2 separate regions of the Homo sapiens genome follow, and region 2 is linked to region 1. Evidence: promoter capture Hi-C in 16 types of primary human blood cells and fetal thymus (Javierre and others, 2016). All regions are on one chromosome and are shown on one strand. Each heading gives the region's core, a stretch centred on a gene start or on the middle of the fragment in contact. The rest is flanking DNA. Distances are from core to core; before and after follow the strand shown. Region 1 holds the start of KANSL3 (KAT8 regulatory NSL complex subunit 3). Region 2 has its middle 12 kb from the start of FAM178B.

The links. The method cuts DNA at HindIII sites, captures the fragments that hold promoters and counts their contacts. A CHiCAGO score of 5 or more calls a contact.
Region 2: a fragment that was not itself captured here is called in contact with the fragment with the promoter of KANSL3 in region 1 in 1 of 17 cell types (non-activated CD4 T cells); the score reaches 5.3 in non-activated CD4 T cells.

The regions. Positions count from the first base shown.
Region 1 is chr2:96,635,813-96,640,096 of GRCh38, forward strand. It overlaps KANSL3 (KAT8 regulatory NSL complex subunit 3), which reads right to left and starts at 2,500. Exons shown (of 21, transcript NM_001115016.3): 1 at 2,471-2,500; 2 at 1,109-1,373. The coding sequence starts at 1,323. RefSeq lists an enhancer at 160-269 and a silencer at 2,220-2,429. The HindIII fragment of the contact is 21,308 bases long and covers 1-4,284 here.
Region 2 is chr2:96,996,866-97,001,149 of GRCh38, forward strand. It overlaps the pseudogene LOC100420569. Among named protein-coding and RNA genes, the nearest start is that of FAM178B, 12 kb to the left of the region's middle. The HindIII fragment of the contact is 4,040 bases long and covers 30-4,069 here.

The DNA of each region.
Region 1 (4,284 bases), core at 1,250-3,749:
TGGAAACCCTGTCTCTACTAAAAATACAAAAATTAGCCAGGCACAGTGGCACACGCCGGTAGTCCCAGCTACTCAGGAGGCTGAGGCAGGAGAATCGCTCAAACCCAGGAGGTGGAGGTTGCAGTGAGCCAAGATCACACCACTGCACTCCAGCCTGGGCGACAGAGCAAGACTCCATCTCAAAAAAAAAAAAAACCACACACACACATTGTGGTATCTCTAACTCATTAGGTCATTAAGTCTCAATTCCAGGAGGGGTGACTCTAAAGAAGCCTCTACAAGGGCTCTAACCCCCAACAAAATTAAAACCAGTGCTTAAGGAAAGATTAAACATTAGGTCAGATTAAAAACAAACAGACAAAACTCTTCTCCAAAAGTTTACAAAATTATTAAGGACATGATTTGATCACCATAACGGAATATATCAACACATCATGAAACATAATTAGAATGCCTTAAAGTGCAAAAGAACTGGCAAACAGGTTTATTTAGACCAAATGTAACTGTATCACTCATCAGGTAGTCAATTTATGAAACTTCCTTACCCTATAACATAGGCTGGGTGAAAATATCATTAGACATAAGAAGGGTTTAGATTAACCTATGGATAGCAGCTCTGTAACAAGGGAAGAGAAAAAGCAACGTCTTGGGAATTGGCTCCTAACCTTCGTGTGTGAAACCAAGAAAAGCAAAATGCATTACTATAAAAAGGCTATTGTTGCCACTGTCAAGCAACCCAGAGCACTGGACTAATGTGATAAAAGAGTCGTATCCTGTGGGTAATCTTTTAAAATCAACTTTTCAGTCTTTTTCTTCACCAGTTAAATAACCCTCTACGATTTTCCCCTTTCCACACGTCCTACTATCTAAGTGGAATAGGTTGTCTGCTTTTCATTTGCACGTCTTGCTTTCCTAACTCTTGTTAGCTGTCTCACAGAGATAGCCACATTCAAGCCTGCTATCCTTATGCTGCTTAAGAGATGCCTGAATTTAACATCCAAATGCCTCATACAATCTCCCCCAGTCAATCCTGAGAAAATCCTCTCTAAATTCCCATCTGATCACTGCCCAGTGAGGTTACCAGCAGCCCTTAGAAGCCCCAACTCACATGGTACTTTCGTGCTGCCGCCGGGGAGTGACAAAGAGCATGCGGGTGGGGCGGGCACTACTGGCATCTGGGTGGGCACTCCAAGGCTTGGCATAGCTATGATCCAGAAAAACCAGGTCCAGCTCCCGTTCATGCACTGAAAGCTGGAAGAGCAGCGAGGTGCCCATGCGTCGAGCTGAAGTCTGGAAGTCCCTCTCCCCACCCCGGTGGGCCATGTCAGTGGAGGGGCAGAAAGTCAGAGCATGGGTATCTGCATGCTAGTCACCTGCAGTGAAAAGTTTCAGTTTAGGTCAATTCCAATATCCTAAATTTCTCCCAATCTACACCATCTAACATGCTTACTTTTGTAACCTACTATCATTCCTATTGAGTATCCATTTCACGGCAGACCTCTGGTGGGGACGGTTCGTGGAATCCCACACCAACACCAAAAAAAAAGAAAAAAAAAACTATGGTGCCACGAGTTGTCCCATACTCAACCTCTAGCGAACTGAAATTACCTAACGGGAGAGCTCACCGACCCCAAGGTTCAGAAAGACCTCGCGTGGACAGACAGTAAACTTGCTTGGCCAGCACCACTTCCTAGGTGGGCAGGAAGGGTTTTGACAAACAGGAAATCACAAATATGAATTCGTTGAAAGCTAAGGATCTCTGTTGCTTCACACCATCCTCTAACGACAATGCGAAGGGAGCCGGGGCCGCAGCTAGAGCGTGGGCACCCCTAAAGGGCAGGGCAACGCCGGCCTCAAAAAAGCGAATCCCAGCTAGGGCTCCACTTCTTCAAGCCTCTCGTATTGTGCGAAACAAAAGTTCTGTTAAGTACTTCGTAATATTCCAGAGTTGTTTACATAAAAATGAAAACTGCCCCCCCAACAAAGCCTGTGACAAAATGATCCCCGTGGAAGCCCTTTCACCCTCACCCCCAGTGAGGCGTCCCTAGCAAACCGCCCAGGACCCCGGCTGCCCCGCAGGCGTTCCCGCCACTGAGCCTCCACACGGCCCATCTAGGAGACAGGGCTATGACTCGCATTTTACAGACGAAGTCGCCAGCTCGGGGAACTGAAGCGATTTGGCCAAGGTCATCCAGAGTTCGCGACGAGGAGGAGCCGCCTGGCCCCCGCCTCCCGCCTCCCGCTCCCTGGGGCAGGGCTCGGCGTCCGCGTCACGGAGGCCCAGACGCGGCCCCTGCCAGCCCGCCCCCGGCCCGACCCGCCCCGCCCGACCAGCACCGGCAGCCGGCCCTAGCCCGGGCCCCCGCATGCCCCGGGAGCCCTGAAGCCCTCGCCGAGACCCCCGGCCGTCCCAACCACGGCCGCGATCCCCACGGCCCGCCACTCCCCTCGAAGCCAACGCTGCTCTCACCCGCGGTCTTACGGCCGCGCGCTCGGCCACGGCCGGATCCCTAAGCGCGTGCGCGTTAACGCCTCCACGCCCCGGCGCTGCGGGCACCGAGTAAAACGCGGAAGCGGGTTACGGCCTGGGAAGGGAGAGGCGGTGAGCGGCAAAGCCCGGAACGGATGAAGCTCCGGCGCCTCTGTCCGGAAGAGGAGAGCCAAGAACACGCGAGCATGTCCGAAGCAGAAAGTCAACAACTAGGCTGGAGTTTCCCCCTCGCGCATATTCAGTAGGGAAAGCGAGGGCGGAGGACTAGGCTGGCTTCTACGGCCCCAGTTCTCGCCACCCCCACCGTGTTGGTCCTTTGTGCCCTCTGGGCGGTCGAGCACCCAACGGTCCACCTCCACCAGGGCAGCCACCTGAATTTACTCATTAAGAATTTACCTAATGTGGCTCACGCCTGTAATCCCAGCGCTTTGGGAGGCCTAGGCGGGAGGACCTCTTGAGCTCAGGAGTTTGAGATGAGCCTGGCCAATATGATGAGACCCCCGTATCTACAAAAAATTTTAGAAATTAGGTGTGTGTGATAGTGGTGTATGCCTGTAGTCCCAGCTACCCGGGAGGCTGAGGTGGGAGGATCACTTGAGTCTGGGAGGTCCAGGCTGCAATGAGCCATGGTTGCACCACTGCACTCCAGCCTGGACGACGGAGTGAGACTACGTCTCAAAAAAAAAAAAAAAGAATTTTGTTACTGACCCTAGATTGTTTTGTGTGGTTAACTTTCCTATGTGTTTTGTGTAGAGAGAGTAGATCCTCAAAATCAGGGACATTAACCTTTGTATCCTCCAGAGAACATACACCCAGAACATAGGTAATTGTTCAAATGTTGACTGATCAATAATTGGTTATTTGGTTGACTGACTGACAACATGACATCAAGAGACATGAGACAAGACAGCAAGAGACATGGTTCAAGATGATAAATCTCACCCGGGATCTGTGGCTCATGCCTATAATCCCAGTACTTTGGGAGGCCAAGGTGGGAAGATTGCTTGAGCCCAAGAGTTCAAGACTAGCCTGCACAAAACAGTGAGACTTCGTTTCTATTTAAAAAAAGAAATGGCCGGGTGCGGTGGCTCACGCCTGTAATCCCAGCACTTTGGGAGGCTGAGGAGGGTGGATCACGAGTTCAGGAGTACAAAACCAGCCTGGCCAACATAGCGAAATCCTGTCTCTACTAAAAATACAAAAATTAGCCAGGTGTGGTGGCGCATGCCTGTAATCCCGGCTACTCGGGAGGCTGAGGTGGGAGAATCTCTCAAACTCAGGAGGCAGAGGTTGCGGTGAGCCAAAATCGCGCCATTGCACTCCAGCCTGGGCGACACAGCAAGACTCTGTCTCAAAAAAAAAAAAAAGATAGGTACAGACATGCAAACACTCGAAACATTCAGAAAGCCACTCAAAGCTGTGTTCCACAAAGATGAGAGGGTAAACTGAGAAGACGGAAGGCATAGGATCGGGGAAGCAGGGTCTAACACAAGAAGCAGACGAGGAATTCTGAAGGTGATGGCAAAGAGTATCCCAGGACAATAGCTATGCTGCAGGACTGGGGACCACTAGTCTCAGCTGGGGGAGAAGAGAAGACCAGGAGGGAGAGCCCCGGGGAAAACAATAAAACTGGGAAAATGCCTCATAGATTTGAAAAAATCAAGGAATGCTATTTAAAAGTGCTGTTTAGAAATATGGAGCTTAAGGCCATAGAAATTATCACAAATAGAGCAGCCCCTGCCCCACCTCTCCCTACCCTTAACTTTGTCTCCTGGGCGCTTGTTTGGGGCCAG
Region 2 (4,284 bases), core at 800-3,299, 360 kb after region 1:
ATTGTGAATGAACATTAAACCTGGCTCTAAGCTTCTTGGAAGCAAGAGAAGAAGAGAAGCGGGTGGGGAACACAAAGGACTCCATGCTTCTCTTTATAACATAGAGTTTCTACAATAGAAGGAAATAACGTGTTTTTCCTTATTTTCAATTCCAAAAGTAATTTCTCATGTGTGATTTTATACAAGGACATTATGTAACAAAATGGATGTAGGTTTGAATAACCAGGTATATCAAAAGATGGAGAAACAATTGTCCTGTATAATGCACCCTTCATTATGCAGTCATTCAACAAAGACTGAGCACCTGCCACACTGCCTAGACTCAAAACATGTGCAAAAAGATAATAACCTTGCCATGTACTCAACCCCACAATGGAGGTGTGCCCGGAGGCTGCAGGAGCACACAGAAGTGACATGGGGACCCTGCCTGGAAGGGTCCGATGACCTCAGGCAAGGTAACATTTGCCCAAAGTCTTGAAATTTGAGTTGGAATTTACTATTTATCTCCAAGAGGAGAAAAAGCATTCAAGGAAAAGGGAATAAAATGTGCAAAGGCATGAATGCTTGAGGCCTGAGATGTCGCTTATCAGTGGGCAAGTGCAGGACTCCTAGGTGTCAGCCAGCCTGAGGAGGACCTTACAGGGCAGGACAGAATCCAGTTCAGGTTCAGGACTCAAGGAACAGAGGCCAGAGACAGGAGGGGTGCGAAACAGGGAGTCCCAAAGGAGGTGGTTGTAAAATTGAGTGTGGGAGTGGATGTCAAGGCCCTTAATAGGGGCCACTCCAGGGACTATTGCTGGGGAAGAACCGACAGACATGAGAGAGAGACGGGAGGGGGATTCCACTGTGTTAACTCAGAGGATGACCCCATTTACAAGGTGAGTGGGGTGAAGGTGAGCTCAGCTGGAAGCCATGCCAATTTTGTTTGTTTACTGCAAAAATACTTTATTTTATATATCACTAGCTGTGAATTTTTGTCATTAGTTGTTGTATGAATGCTGCCTAGTGCCATTAACCAAATGGCATGACCATTTTACGTCCACAATTCACTTCTGTATTGACAGAATTTTCTCTCTCTTTTTTTTTTTTTGAGACAGTCTCACTCTGTTGACCAGGCTGGAGTGCAGTGGCGCCATCTCCACTCACTGCAACCTCCACCTCCCAGGTTCAAGGAATTCTCCTGACTCAGCTTCCCTAGTAGCTGGGATTACAAGTGCTCACCACCATGCCCAGCTAATGTTTGTGATTTTAGTAGTGATGCGGTTTTGCCATGTTGGCCAGGCTGTTCTCAAATTCCTGACCTCATGATCAGCCTGCCTCGGCCTCCCAAAGTGTTGGGATTACAGGCATGAGCCACCGTACCCAGCCTACAAACAGAATTTTCATGATTGATGTAAGTAAACCTGTCAGTGAAGATTTACCATTGAGATGCAGTCTAACATCCGTAACATCTGATGTTTTGCAGACAGCAATGTAGGAGAGACTTTTTTTTTGAGACAGAGTCTCCCTCTGTCGCCCAGGCTGGAGTGCAGTGGGGAGATCTCGGCTCACTGCAAGCTCCGCCTCCTGGGTTCACGCCATTCTCCTACCTCAGCCTCCTGAGCAGCTGTGACTACAGGCGCCCACCACCACGCCTGGCTAATTTTTTTGTATTTCTAGTAGAGACCTGGTTTCACTGTGTTAGCCAGGATGGTCTGGATCTCCTGACCTCGTGATCTGCCCACCTCGGTCTCCCAAAGTGCTGGGATTACAGGCCCGAGCCACCGCACCCGGCCGGAGAGATGTCTTTTTAATCACCTTTCATTTAAGTGCCCTTATGTAAAAAAATAAATAATTTGGAAGTTCTAAGTCTCCAAAGGACATTTTTAAACGTACATATAGAAATGGTTACAATGGGCTGGGCACGGTGGCTCACGCCTGTAATCCCAGCACTTTGGGAGGCAGAGGCGGGCGGATCACGAGGTCAAGAGATTGAGACCATCCTGGCCAACATGGCGAAACCCCGTCTCCAATCATGGATTTCTGTGCTTGCTTGAATTTGGGGATTTCCCTTCTGCTCTTCATCCTTTGTATTTTTAGTAACTAAAAATACAAAAATTAGCTGGGCGTGGTGGCGCCTGCTTGTAATCCCAGCTACTCGGGAGGCTGAGGCAGGAGAATCACTTGAACCTGGGAAGTGGAGGTTGCAGTGAGCCGAGATCGCGCCATTGCACTCCAGCCTGGCAACAAGAGCGAAACTCTGGCCGGGCACGGTGGCTCACGCCTGTAATCCCAGCACTTTGGGAGGCCGAGGCGGGTGGATCACGAGGTCAGGAGATTGAGACCATCCTGGCTAACACGGTGAAACCCCGTCTCTACTAAAAAATACACACACACACAAAAATTAGCCGGGCGTGGTGGCGGGCGCCTATAGTGCCAGCTACTCAGGAGGCTGAGGCAGGAGAACGGCGTGAACTCGGGAGGCGGAGCTTGCAGTGAGCCGATGGCGCCACCGCACTCCAGCCTGGGAGACAGAGGGAGACTCCGTCAGAAAGAAAGAAAGAGAGAAAGAGAGGAAAAAGAGGAAAGAAAGGAAAGAAAGGAAAAGTTCCAATGGGCCAGACGCAATGGCTCATCCCTGTAATCCTAGCACTTTGGGAGGCTGAGGCGGGTGGATCACCTGACTTCGGGAGTTTGAGACCAGCCTGACCACCATGAAGAAACCCCATCTCTACTAAAAATACAAAAAATTAGCTGGGCGTGGGGGCGCATGCCTGCACTTCCAGCTACTGGGGAGGCTGAGGCAGGAGAATCGCTTGAACCCAGGAGGTGGAGGTTGCAGTGAGATGATATCACCCCATTGCACTCCAGCCTGGGCAATAAGAGCGAAACTTTGTCTCAATAAATAAATAAATAAATAAATAGAAATAGTTACAATGAAAGCTGGGTGCGGTGGCTCACACCTGTAATCCCAGCACTTTGGGAGGCCAAGGCAGGTGGATCACCTGAGGTCAGGAGTTCGAGGCCAGCCTGGCCAACATGGTGAAACCCCGTCTCTACTAAAAATACAAAAATTAGCTGGGCATGGTGGCAGGTGCCTGTAATCCCAGCTACTCCGGAGGCTGAGGCAGGAGAATGACTTGAAACCGGGAGGCAGATGTTGCAGTAAGCTGAGATCGTGTCACTGCCCTCCAGACTGGGCAACAGGGCGAGACTCTGTCTCAAAAAAAGAAAAAGAAAAAAAAAGAAAAAAAAAAAGAAATGATTACGAGCCTTTTTTTTTTTTTTTTTGAGGCAGGGTCTTACTTTGTTGCCCAGGCTGCAGTGCAGTGGCATAATCACAGTTCACTGCAACCTAGACCTCCTGGGCTCAAGGAACCCTCCCACTTCAGCCTCCCCACTCTTGACATCCCCACACCCCCACCCCAAGTAGCTGGGTCTACAGGGGTACACCACCACATCTAGCTAATTAAAAAAATGTTTTGTAGAGAAGGGGGGTCTCAAACTACTAGCCTCAATCAATCCTCCCACCTCAGCTTCCCAAAATGCTGAGATTATAGGCATGAGCCGCCATGCCCAGCCTACAGACTTTTAAGAGATATTTTCCATGTCCACAGCCTATTGTAATTGCTGTACCACTTTCTCTTCCAACTGCTTTCCTTTGCCTGCAAGAGGAGCTTGAATAAGATAAATGTTTTGCTTGACTTCTTTGATGTCCTGGATTTTCTGTAGCTCTTTATTTTTCTTCAATCTGTTCATTATACATTTAGCTTGGCGTTTCTTTTTTTTATTATTTTAAGTTCTGGGATACATGTGCAGAATGTGAAGGTTTGTTACATAGGTATGCATGTGCCATGGAGGTTTGCTGCACCCATCAACCCGTCATCTAGGTTTTAAGTCCCTCATGCATTAGGTATTTGTCATAAGGCTCTCCCTCCCCTTGCCCTCCACCCCCTGACAGGCCCCAGTGTGTGATGATGTTCCCTCCCTGTGTCCATGTGTTCTCATTGTTCAACTCCCACTTATGAGTGAGAACATGTGGTGTTTAGTTTTCTGTTCCTGTGTTAGTTTGCAGAGAACGATAGCTTCAAGCTTCATCCATGTCCCTGCAAAGGACATGAACTCATTCTTTTTTATGGCTGCCCTTTTTTTTTTTTTTCTGAGACAGAGTCTCGCTCTGTGGCACCCAGGCTGGTGTGCAGTGGTGTGATCTCAGCTCCCCACAACCTCCGCCTCCTGGGTTCAAGCGATTCTCCTGCCTCAGCCTCTTGAGTAGCTAGCATTACAGGTGTATGCCACCACACC